Regions from separate parts of the Homo sapiens genome. Here region 2 is linked to region 1. Evidence: promoter capture Hi-C in 16 types of primary human blood cells and fetal thymus (Javierre and others, 2016). All regions are on one chromosome and are shown on one strand. Each heading gives the region's core, a stretch centred on a gene start or on the middle of the fragment in contact. The rest is flanking DNA. Distances are from core to core; before and after follow the strand shown. Region 1 holds the start of ZFAND6 (zinc finger AN1-type containing 6). Region 2 has its middle 46 kb from the start of MINAR1.

Evidence for each region. The method cuts DNA at HindIII sites, captures the fragments that hold promoters and counts their contacts. A CHiCAGO score of 5 or more calls a contact.
Region 2: a contact is called between a fragment that was not itself captured here and the fragment with the promoter of ZFAND6 in region 1, in 4 of 17 cell types (naive B cells, total CD4 T cells, total B cells and 1 more). The highest score is 8.0, in naive B cells.

What each region holds. Positions count from the first base shown.
Region 1 is chr15:80,056,877-80,062,736 of GRCh38, reverse strand. ZFAND6 (zinc finger AN1-type containing 6) reads right to left here and starts at 3,061. Exons shown (of 7, transcript NM_019006.4): 1 at 2,928-3,061. RefSeq lists silencers at 2,489-3,358, 3,055-3,383. The HindIII fragment of the contact is 4,474 bases long and covers 521-4,994 here.
Region 2 is chr15:79,383,227-79,388,968 of GRCh38, reverse strand. It overlaps a transcript of TMED3 not described here. Among named protein-coding and RNA genes, the nearest start is that of MINAR1, 46 kb to the left of the region's middle. The HindIII fragment of the contact is 3,054 bases long and covers 1,802-4,855 here.

The DNA.
Region 1 (5,860 bases), core at 1,812-4,311:
AACCCCATATACACATTGTCCTTATAATTAAATAAAAAATAAGGTTTTTAAAAGCAGAATACAGCCCTACCAAAACAAAGCATCCTGATATTTGTCTGCAAGCTACATATAGAAAAAATGAAACCATCTCTACTCCCATGCCTTCAAACAAAAAGGTTATTCAAAATTACATGTAAATTCACACTTACATACATGAATGAAACATGAAACACATAAAAACACACCTATCTTCAGGATAGTAAGGAGATACTATTCCCTAATTTGTCGCTGTGTTCCTGTTAGCATAATGAAACAGATCCTCGGGAAACACACCTTGTGGGCATTCTCTAATCTAAAACATATTTAAATATGGAGTTAACAAATCCTGAACCACCACACAACTTTTCCAAAAATGTTCCAAAGGATACAAAATTTAATTCCACAGAATAACACCTTGGTCCTAATGCTTTCCCTTAAAGGGTGTGACATTTGACAGGTGTTTTCCTTAATTAAAGTCTGTGCAAAAGTGGAAGGATAAGCTTAGGACAAGTTTCTTTTACATGAGTATGCTAAGGCACAAGAGAAATTTTTAAGTAATTTGCTAGAGATTAGAGGGGAGGAGAGGAACAGCAGAAAGGATAATTTATTTTACATACAATCCAGCGTTTTTTCTACTATACTATTTTTGCATTGAAAAGGAGATACCAAACAGTGCCAGACTTTTTACAATGTGACTTCAAAGTAAGAGAGTCATTACACATAGGTTAACAGGAATTTTGGGTTTTCATGCAAATGTTCAACTAGGTTGAACTAGTTCAATCACTACGGCTATGAATCTTCTATTTAAACATAATAGAGAATCCTAATGTTTTTCATTCATCTTATTTCTAAGTAATTCAATCTATTCTAGTCCTGATTACCTAATACCGTCTAATGCAATCCACATTAAGTATTTACTCTAGAGAAATTCTTGTACTTGTGTACCAAGAGCCGGAAACAAGAAATGTTCACAGAGCAAGACTGCTTATAACAAAACAAAATAAAAAACAATAAAAACACGGTCGAAGTGCCCATAAGTTATGGCAGATTAACATATCATAAAGCAATGAAATAAACTACAGCCACATACTATTTTTATAAAGCTCAAAAGAAAAACAAATTAAATGCCACACAGTTTCGGCATACAAACATATATGATAAAACTATTTTTCAAAAAGTCAAGGAAGTGACATACACAAAATCCACTGCACAGATAAGAAACTCATAGACAAATGCAAGTTTTAGTAATGTTCCAGTTTTGGGTTTGGGGGGAGTCATCAAGGATTTATGATGTTTTTATCTGCTTATACTTTACCGTGTTTTTTTTTGGTAGTATTAAATATATTTTGGTTACTTCTTAAAAACGTTACTGACATATAGTTGACAATAAACTGCACATATTTGAAGTGTAAAACGTGTAAGTTCTGACATATGCATACACCCAAAAAGTTATCACTACAAGATAATAAATCCACCGACCCCTGTATTTTCTCCTGCACATTTGTGATGTCTCCCTTTAAACACATTTTAAAACGTAAAAAAGTAAAAATAAAAAAGACAACTTGTTTTGGAAAGCTAAACGTGCATATTTTGCAAAACATTTCCCCTAGGGCTCTGGAGAAACTATACACAACTCAGAAAGTGCCTTAAAATTGGTGACATGGTTACCGAACAACTAACCTTAAAAGTTTATGGTATTTTACACTTTTAAAAAATCAAATTCCGATTTCGGTTTGAAAGAGGAATTTAATCCTGTTTCTCGGAGCTTCAAAATCATTAATTCTGCCCGGCTTTTTTTTGAGACGGAGTCTCCCTCTGTCGCCAGGCTGGAGTGCAGTAGCGCGATCTTGGTTCACTGCAACCTCCGCCTCCCGGGTTCAAGCGATGCTCCTGCCTCAGCCTCCCAGTAGCTGGGACTACCGGCGCCCGCCACCACACCCAGCTAATTTTTGTATTTTTAGTAAAGACAGGGTTTCACCATGTTGGCCAGGATGGTCTCGATCTCCTGACCTCGTGATTAGTCCGCGTCGGCCTCCCAAAGTGCTGGGATTACAGGCGTTGAGTCACCGCGCGTGGCCAATTCTGCCCAGTTTTTATGGCCCAACAACTTAATATAAATTATCTTTAGGTAACCCCAAGGTCCTAACTTCCTCACAACTGGTTACAACTTCCGAGATGTGAAGGTAAATCATAGCGTCCCAACTGTGTAGGATAGTTAGCACGTGACTTAAAAACCAAGTTAAAAAGATTTCAAACACAATATTCTTTCATACTTTTTTAGGTAGCTAAAACTTAAATATAACTATTTCAAAAAAGCAGACAAAAAATTTAGAATCCTAAGCAAGCTAAACCCAAGCAGGAAAAAAAGAGACCAATTCCCTTCCCGGTGCCAGTCAGGAGTTGGAGACACCGGGCTGCCTCCGGCTGGTTTCTGAAAAACGCCGCAGGTGGAAAAACATCCCGAAGAGGACCTGAGACTCGGAGGAGGCGGGGAACTGACGCGCCCCAGTGTGCCCGGGGCCCTTCCGACCCCCGCCAGCCAACCGCTCGCAACCCGCTCGGGGCGGCGCGCGTCGCGGCCTCCGCGGCCCTGAAGAACTGAGGCTCCCGACCCCAGCGCGACCACCCTGACAGGAAGCGGCCCCCGGCCGCGGGCGCCCGCGCGCCGTCTGAGGTGAACCCGCCGATCTCCGGCCCCCACCCCCGGAGCCGGGAGTCCTCGCCCTCTCGCCCGCGGCCCCCGCGGGCCCACCACCTGCTGCGCCGGCCGGCCGCCCTCCGCTTCCGGCTCTCGGGCGCCGGGAGGGGCCGGGGGCGGGCCTCGCCTAGCTGCAGCCGGGTGGGGGAAGGGAGCAGGCGGGGGAGGGGCAGCGCCGGGCAAGCCGGGCCCCGCGGGCCGCGCTCCTCACCTGGCGGCGGGTCTCTCCGCCTGACACGCTGCGCGCCGCCGCCGGTAGCCGCCGGTGAATGGGTACAGGTAATGCCGCCGAACCCCTGCTTGCTCCGGCTCCGCCACCGCCGGCCCCTCCGTCCGCTGTTTATTAAACTTTTCTGTTTGGTTGTTCGGCCTATGACGCGACCGCGGAGGAGAGCCACTGGATTGGCCGGCTCCCGCGGCTGACGCGCGGGCCCCGCCCGCCCGCTAATTATTACCGGCGCGGGCGGGGCCGCAGGCCGGAGGAGGCGGGGAGAGGCGGGGTCAAGGCTCGGAGCGCACGGCAATTGGCCGGAGGCAGGAAAAGAGGCGGGGCGGAGCGAAAGGAGATGCTCCTCCGCCTTCTGCACCTCCAGTGTCCCTTGCTCCACTGCCCTCTCTGGGGCGCTTCCCGCCGCGGTTTCTCTACCTCCAATAGCTACGGGAAGGCGATTAAGAGGTGCCGCGGAGACTTTAAGGGCTTGGTTATGTAGGTTCAGGTACCTTTGCCACCTCGCAGGGAATGGCGTGTCCCTGTCTTGGACTGAGGCACCAAAAAGAGTTGCACTCCACCTGCCACTTGTGCAGGAAGGAATTCTGAGCTTCTGTCTTCCCATGCAGGCCGGCGCCTCAGTCTGCAAGCGCAAAGTCCGAGCTCAGGGCGCATACTGGAAAGCAGTTCTCTGCCCTGTCCTGAACTGGGACTTGGAAATAGAAGCAAGACGAGAAGCGTGCATGCACACGTGTGCAATACATACATGCACAGGCACAAGCACCCCCAGTTCCAGCCTGTTCCAAAAGCACGGGGTCAGTTCCCACCTGCGTGGTGCACGCTGGGCTGCTGCGCTGGAACTAGGGGTGATAGGCAGAATGGCTCCCCCTGAAGTTTTTCAGCCTTCGTTCGGGCTCACGAGCATCACGAGCAGGAAGTACGTGACACTTTAGTTCGAGGTCATTCAATCCTATTGTGAATGAGGAGTTCCGTTAGGGCATCCAGGTAGGCGAGCCCAGTCCTGAGAATCCTCTTTATTTTAAATGTTGGTATTTTGTTATTCATGGATTTTTTTTTTGCATTAATTTTAATTTTAAAAAATAAAAATGTTATTCATCTTGATCACTTAGTTTTTTGGTGCTCCCTTAAATGTTGTGCCTGAAGTGAGTACCTGTTGAGCATTTAGCAACACAGAAGTCACCTTGGGGAGTACAGTTTAAGTGGAGGACAAAAGCCTGATTGGAATGGTAATAAAACCTACTTGTTAGGCTATTTGTGGGGGTTAAATAACATAATATGTGTGAAAGAGCTTCTTGAACTAGCAAGGTTATGCGTCAAGTCTTACGGATTTTGTCTTAAATGTATTTTTCTTCCGATTCTTGTCCAGTTTATCGTTGTATTAACTCCAGCACCTAACCCAGTTGGATTTTCATATGCAGTTATTATGAATTTGCAGAAATTGGGTTTACATGACCTTTACTGCTTTCCTTTGTTCCAGATTCGTTCTGGGAGATTGAGAGATTATAGTATTGCATTGTGACGTGGAATGCAGACAGACCACTGTCACTTACTAGCTTTGTGCTCTTAAGAAAATTGTGTGAAATGGGAACGAAAACCTACCACAAAGGATTGTTATGAGGGTTAAAAGATACTGCATTTCTATTCACCCAGTAAATGCTATATGCCGACTCTCTGCCAGCCTGTGCTGTAGGTGCTGGAGACAGCATTAAGAAAGATGAAGGCCCTTCTCTCATTGACTTACACAGGGGAAGAGAGGGAGCAGAAACAATAAACAGTATACATACGCAACCTACCGGTCAGTGTACATAAACAACATATTCACAGCACCTGGTATGTAACAGATGCTCAATAAATGATTGTGTATGCATTATTATTTCCAGCCCCATCTTCTTTCCTGTGTTCCAGAGCAGGACATTCACTGTGTGCTTATCACAGCCATTCAATATGTCCAAGGCTTATTTTCCCCCAAACACATTCTTCCTCCTGTAGTCCCAATTTTGGCTAATGGTGACACCATGTTTCCAGTTATTAAAGCTAGAAACTCAAGCTTTATTGAGATTTAACACACATATCATTACAACTTACCCATTTTTAAAGAATACAATTTGCTGGGCGCGGTGACACATGCCGGTGGTCCCAGCTACTCAGGAGGGTGAGCTGGGAGAATTGCTCGAGTCCAGGAGTTCTGGGCAGTAGTGCACTGTACCCACTGGTGTCCACAGAGGGTGGGGGGCACCATCAAGTTGCCTAAGAAAGAGGACTCTGCCCAGGTCCAAAACAGAGCAGGTCAAAACTCCTGTGCTGATTAGTAATGGGATCATGGCCATTGCACTCCAGCCTGGGCAACATAGCAAGACTCTGTCTCCTATTAAAGAAAAAACAAAAAGAAAAATGAAAGAAATTATACAATTCAGTGGTTTTTAGTATATTCACAGTGGTGCAGTTATCACCACAAATCAGTTTCAGAACATTTTGTCACCCTATAAAGAAACCTTGGCAGGGTGCAGTGGCTCATGCCTGTAAATACCAGGGTTTTGGGAGGCCGAGGCAGGTGGATCACTTGAGGTCAGGTGTTAGAGAACAGACTGGTCAACACAGTGAAACCCTGTCTCTACTAAAAATACAAAAATTAGCCAGCCTTGGTGGTGCACACCTGTAGTCCCGGCTGCTTGGGAGGCTGAGGCAGGAGAATCACTTGAACCCGGCAGGCGGAGGTGGCAATGAGCCGAGATCACGCCACTGCACTCCAGCCTGGGTGACAGAGCAAGACTCCATCTCAAAAAAAAACAAAAAACAAAAAAACAACCTTGTACCTATTAGCAGTCACATTCCCCTTTCCCCCAATCCATGGCCCACCTCCACCCCTAGGCAACCATTAAGCTACTGTGTGTCCCTTAAGTTTTGCAAGTGATCCT
Region 2 (5,742 bases), core at 2,079-4,578, 670 kb after region 1:
AAACTCAAACAAATCAGTAAGAAAAAAAACAATCTCATCAAAAAGTGGGCTAAGGACATGAATAGATAATTCTCAAAAGAAGATATACAAATGGCTTGCAAACATAGAAAAAATACTTAACATCACTAATGATCAGGGAAATGCAAATCGAAACCCAATGTGATACCACCTTACTCCTGCAAGAATGGCCATAATCTAAACACCAAAAAACAGTATATGTTGGTGGGGATGTGGTGATCAGGGAACACTTTTACACTGCTGGTAGGAACTAGTACAGCCACTATAGAAAACAGAGTGAAGATTACTTCATGAACTAAAACTAGAATTACATTTGATCCAGCAATCCTACTACTGAGTATCTACCCAGAGGAAAAGAAGTCATTATACAAAAAAGATACTTGCACATGCATATTAATAGCAGAACAATTTGCAATTGCAAAATCATGAAACCAACCCAAATGCCCATCAATCAACGAGTGGATAAAGAAACTGTGGTATATGTATATACAAAATTGAATACTACTCAGCCCGTCTTAAAAAAAAAAACATAATTCTCCTTGTCAACAGATTAAGGGAGAAAAATAACATGATAATATGATCATCTCAAAAAATAGAATAAAACATTTATAAAATTCATCATTCATTAATGGTTAAAGATAAGCTCTTAGTATACTTGGAATAAAAGCAGACTTCCCTTTTATTACTTCCCTATTGTCTAAAGAGATAGACCAAAAAGAAAGAAAAGGCTACCGAAAACATCATAATTAATGGTAAAATACTGAAGGTTTTTCCTTCTGAGATTGGGAAAAAGACAAAAATATTCACTCACTATCACCAGTCCTATTCATCACTTTACTGGGCATCATGCCAGTTTAAAATGGTAAGATAAGAAATAAAATATATAAAGATTGGAATGGAAAAAAATCCTATATTTTCAGATATTATGATTGTGCTCACAGACTGCCCAGAAGTACCGTAGGTGAATCATTAAAAGTTAATTTTAATATTTTTAATAATTAAGAAAGATTAGCAAAATTGTCAGAAAACAAAATCAATTTTACTTCTATATGCCAGCAACAAACAGAAAATGAAAATTTAAAAAATTCTACTTATAATAGCATCAAGAAGTATCAGGTATGTAGGAATCCAGACAAGAAGAGATGTATAAACTCACATGAACAGAAATATAAAACTTTATTGAGAGAAACTGAAAGAAGACTCAGGTAAATGGAAAGGAATGGATTGGAAAACTGTCTTGCAAAGATGTCATTTCTCCCCCAATCAACCTATGGATTCAATGTAATCCCAGGGAAAATCTGAACAGGGTTATAATACTTGTGTGTGTGTATGTGTGTGTGTGTGTGTGTGTGTGTGCAGGTGCATGTGTGTGTGTATTTTAATTTCATTAGATGTTTCTAACATTTTCACGGAAATGCAAACAGCTAAGAATAGCCAAGACACCCATGAAAGTGACAAAGTGAGAGGACTTGTCCCACAAAATGTCAACACTTATAAAGGTTCAATTATCACGTCACTGTAGTATTTGCACAGGGATTGACAAATAGGCTAATGAATGGAAATAAAGAGTCTAGAAACAGATTGACACATATGTAGATATTTGATTCATGACAAATATAAGACTGCAAAGCAGAGGGGGACATATAATCTTTTCAATAAGAAACTGAAATAATTGGGTAGTCATATGGAAAAATCAAATAAAATTGGACCCTTACTTTCTAAAACACTAAAAACAATCCAGGGGGATTATAGACTTAAATATAAAAGGCAAAATTCTAAAGCTTTTAGTGGAAATGCAAGAGACTCTCTTCCTAATTTGGGGGCAGAGAATGTTTGGCATTTTGTAGAAGCCATAATTAGCCAGGCATGGTGGCATGCAACTGTCATCTCAGCTACTCAGGGGGCTGTGGCATGAGAATCGCTTGAGCCCAGGATTCAAGGCTGCAGTGAGCCTGGGTGCCACTGTGCTCCAGCCTGGGTGACAGAACGAGACATTGTCTCAAAAAAAAAAAAAAAGATTAAAAGATTAAAAAGAAAGAAAGAAAAGAAAAGTGTTAGCCATAAACAAAAAAGATTGATAAATTATATTACATTAAAATTTAAAGTCCAGGCACAGTGGCTCACGGCTGTAATCCCAGCACTTTGGGAGGCTGAGACGGGTGGATCATGAGGTCAGGAGATCAAGACCAGTCTGGCCAACATGGTGAAACCCCGTCTCTACTAAAAATACAAAAAAAAAAAAAAAATAGCCAGGCATGGTGGCCCACACCTGTAATCCCAGCTACTCGGGAGGCTGAGGCAGAGAATTGCTTGAACCTGGGAGGCGGAGGTTGCAATGAGCTGAGATCGCACCACTGCACTCCAGCCTGGGCAACAGTGAGACTCCATCTTGAAAATAAAAAAATTTAAAAACTGTTATTCATCAAAATACCCCTTTTAGAGAATGAAAAGCCAAACCTCCAAGCAGGAGGACATATAGTCAAAGAAGCAGCAGCATATACTCAATGAGGAACAATGTAGCATATAATAACATAAAATGATCAGACAAACTTTTTGCTGCAAAGCCCTAGTGAGGTAGAGATGAGGAGAGTGCTCTGAAAAGTGGCCCCTCACCTGCAGAGAGTGAATACAAGTTATTTTGTTTTGTTTATTATGGTCAAAAGCACATAACATTAAATTTACCCTCATAACCATTTTTAAGTGTACAGTTCAGTGGTATTAAATGTATTCACATTGTTAGACAATAGATCTTCAGAACTTTTTCATCTTGCAAAACTGAAACTCCGTACCCATTAAAATCTAATTGCTCCTCCCTCCAGCCCCCAGCCCTTGGAAAATACAGGTTATCTGTAATTCATTCAGTCCTTTAAGCCTGTTTTCTCTGTCTACTTTCTCTGATTCCCAGCCTCCATTATTCATACTACTTTCTGTGCAAATTTCTCCCCTGGTCTAGTGTTGTAGAACATGGGGGTTAAATGAAGACTGTGGATTCTGGTGGACCTGGGCTGAAATCCAACAGTTGTTTTATCATTTGTAAAATCAAGATAATAAATAGTACCTAATGATGGCAGAGGCTGCTGCTATCACACTGGCTGCGGCTGGCACTGCACACTCCATGAAGCCAGTGGGAGCTCTGCCCCTTCTAAGTTGGGGGTTCAGCTCCCCAGGTGCCACTGTAGCTACCCAAAGTGTGGCTGCAGACCCAGGCCTCCCGCTCTAGGGAGCAGAATGGACCCCTGCCCAAACTGTGGCTGTGGATCTGAGCCTACCTGTGCTCTTCGAGGTTGCCAGGAACAGGCAGGATCTGCCCTCTTGGGTGCAGCTGCAGGCACCCAACCAGTGACTGCAGACCTGGGCCTTCCACTCCAGGGAGCAGGCAGGAGCCAGAGACAAGCAGGAGTCCTGCTCCTTCCAGCAGGGTGGGATGGGAACTCCCCAGGTGCAGCTGCAGCCACCTTCCCAGGTGCAGCACCTCACAAAGTAAGATCCACTGGCTTGACATTCCAGCCAGCCACCGGCAACTGGGTGGAGCCTGCTTGAGATGGGATGGAGCCCCAAGAATTTGTGAGGTGCTGTGGAAGTGGGACCCACAGAATCAGCTCCCTGGATTCTGCCCCCCTTCCTAGGGGTAGGTGCGGACCTCTCACCTTGCCTGAGTTAGACACATCTGATGGGGATCCCAGGGCCAGAGTATATAAAGCTGCTGGGTCTCTGTGCATGCCTGAGCAGTTACTCTGCCAAGACTCCACACAGTTCTGTGTGTCAGCCCCAGGGCCTGGTGGTGTGGGCTCACAAGGGCATCTCTTGATCCACAGGTTGCAAAGATCCGTGGGAGAAGCATGTTTTTCCAGGGTCACACAATCACTCACCACTTCCCTTAGCTCTGTGTCACTCCCAGGTGGGCCATCACCCAACCTTGCTCTTCTTCATTCTCCATGGTTAAGTTGTTTCCCTAATCAGTCCCAATGTGAGAACCTGGATATTTCAGTTGAAGGTGCTGTATTCACTCACGCCTTTCATTCCTCTCCGTGAATGCCACGGACTGCAGCTGCTTCTAATTGGCCATCTTCGCCCCTCTGCTGTTCATTTCTTATACAGATGAGGTCTCACTATGTTACCCAGGTTGGTCTCAAACTCCTGGGCTCGAGCGATTCTCCCACCTCGGCCACCCAAAGTGCTGGGATTACAAGCATGAGCCACCACACCCAGACTGGGTTTTTAAAAATATGTTTTATAAGGTAAAGGTCAAATTTTATTTGATTTTTCTATATGGCTACCCAATTATCTGCTATTATATCCTACCTTCTTCCTACAATCTCATCACCTACTTGAGTATACACATGGTAGACAAGAGGGGAACTTTTTGAGTTTGATTTCTCTTTGTCCCACCAGCTATACTGCCAGGGAATCACAGCATAGTCTGTGCCTCTTGGCATCGCATATGAAGCCCTTCCCTATCTAGCCCTTGCACCATTTCCAGCCTCATGTCTGACCAATAGACTCCCCCAGCTGCATAAGGCCCCTCATCATTCCCAGATGTGCCACACTCTTTCCTATTCCGACAATGATGTATATATCTTTGCCTTTACTTGTGGCATTTACACGTCTACTCATTTTTCAAGATCCTACTCAAATATTACCTCTTCCAAGAAAACTATACGAATATCCCACACTACTATTTATTTCTACCCTGTTCAGAATCCCTCCTATCCTTCAAGTCCTTTGTTTAGTATTAATCACTGCCTCGAGAGAGTTCTGGAGGTTTTGGACTGTTGAAGGAAAGGGAAGATGTACCTTATTGGGTACCTGTGACCTTGCCAATGTTTGAGAAGAAGCTTTTAGAACCTCTGAGCCAGCTCAGGTCACACCACCATCTCCATAGGAACACTGAATTTCCTCCCACAGTTTTGCTTGATGGAACATCCAGGAGCTCTTTGATGATGGGAGGTAGGTTTCTCCGATCTCTTCTCTGGGCTGAATCATGCCCCAGAAATAGGGCCATGAATTATTGGGGTCTTAGAGCTTATGCAGTAAAGGATTAACCCAAAGAAAGTTTTGGCTCTTTACCCCCAGTTTCTGGAAGGTAACATTTAAGCCCTTGGAATGTCCTGGCTTTCAAAAGTGTCTTTATAAACCTAGGACCTTGGGCCATGCCAGATAGTCTGTACTAACCATAAGATTTATGGTGAGGTCCTTGGACAACACAACATCAGCTTTATCTCTGGAGGGGCTAGAGATCAAAGTCAGTCGTATGGTGGCTAGCCATATCTATGTGACTGATTCCTCAATAAAATCTCTGGACACTGAGACTCAAGTGAACTTCCCTAGTTGGCAATACCCTAGGCATATTGTCACACATCGTTGCGGGGAGAGATAAGTGCAGTCTGTATGACTTCACTGGGGAGCGACAAGTGGGAAGCTCCATTCCTGGTCTCTCCTAGACTTTACCTTTTGTACCTTTTCTTATTGTTGATTTTCAAATGTATTCTTCTGCTCTAACAAACTGTAACCATGGGTAAATTGGCTTGCTGAGTTCTGTGACTTCATCTAGTGAAACTCTGAACCTGAGGATGGTGTGAGGGACCTTCCAAACTTTCAGAGCTTCTACTCAATACATTTCTTTTCTCCATCTAAGGGCACAAAGGATCAAATAGATATAATCTTCAACAGCCTTAAGACATTTTCCAAAACAAGATAGCAAAGGCAGCCACATTGGAAATCGGG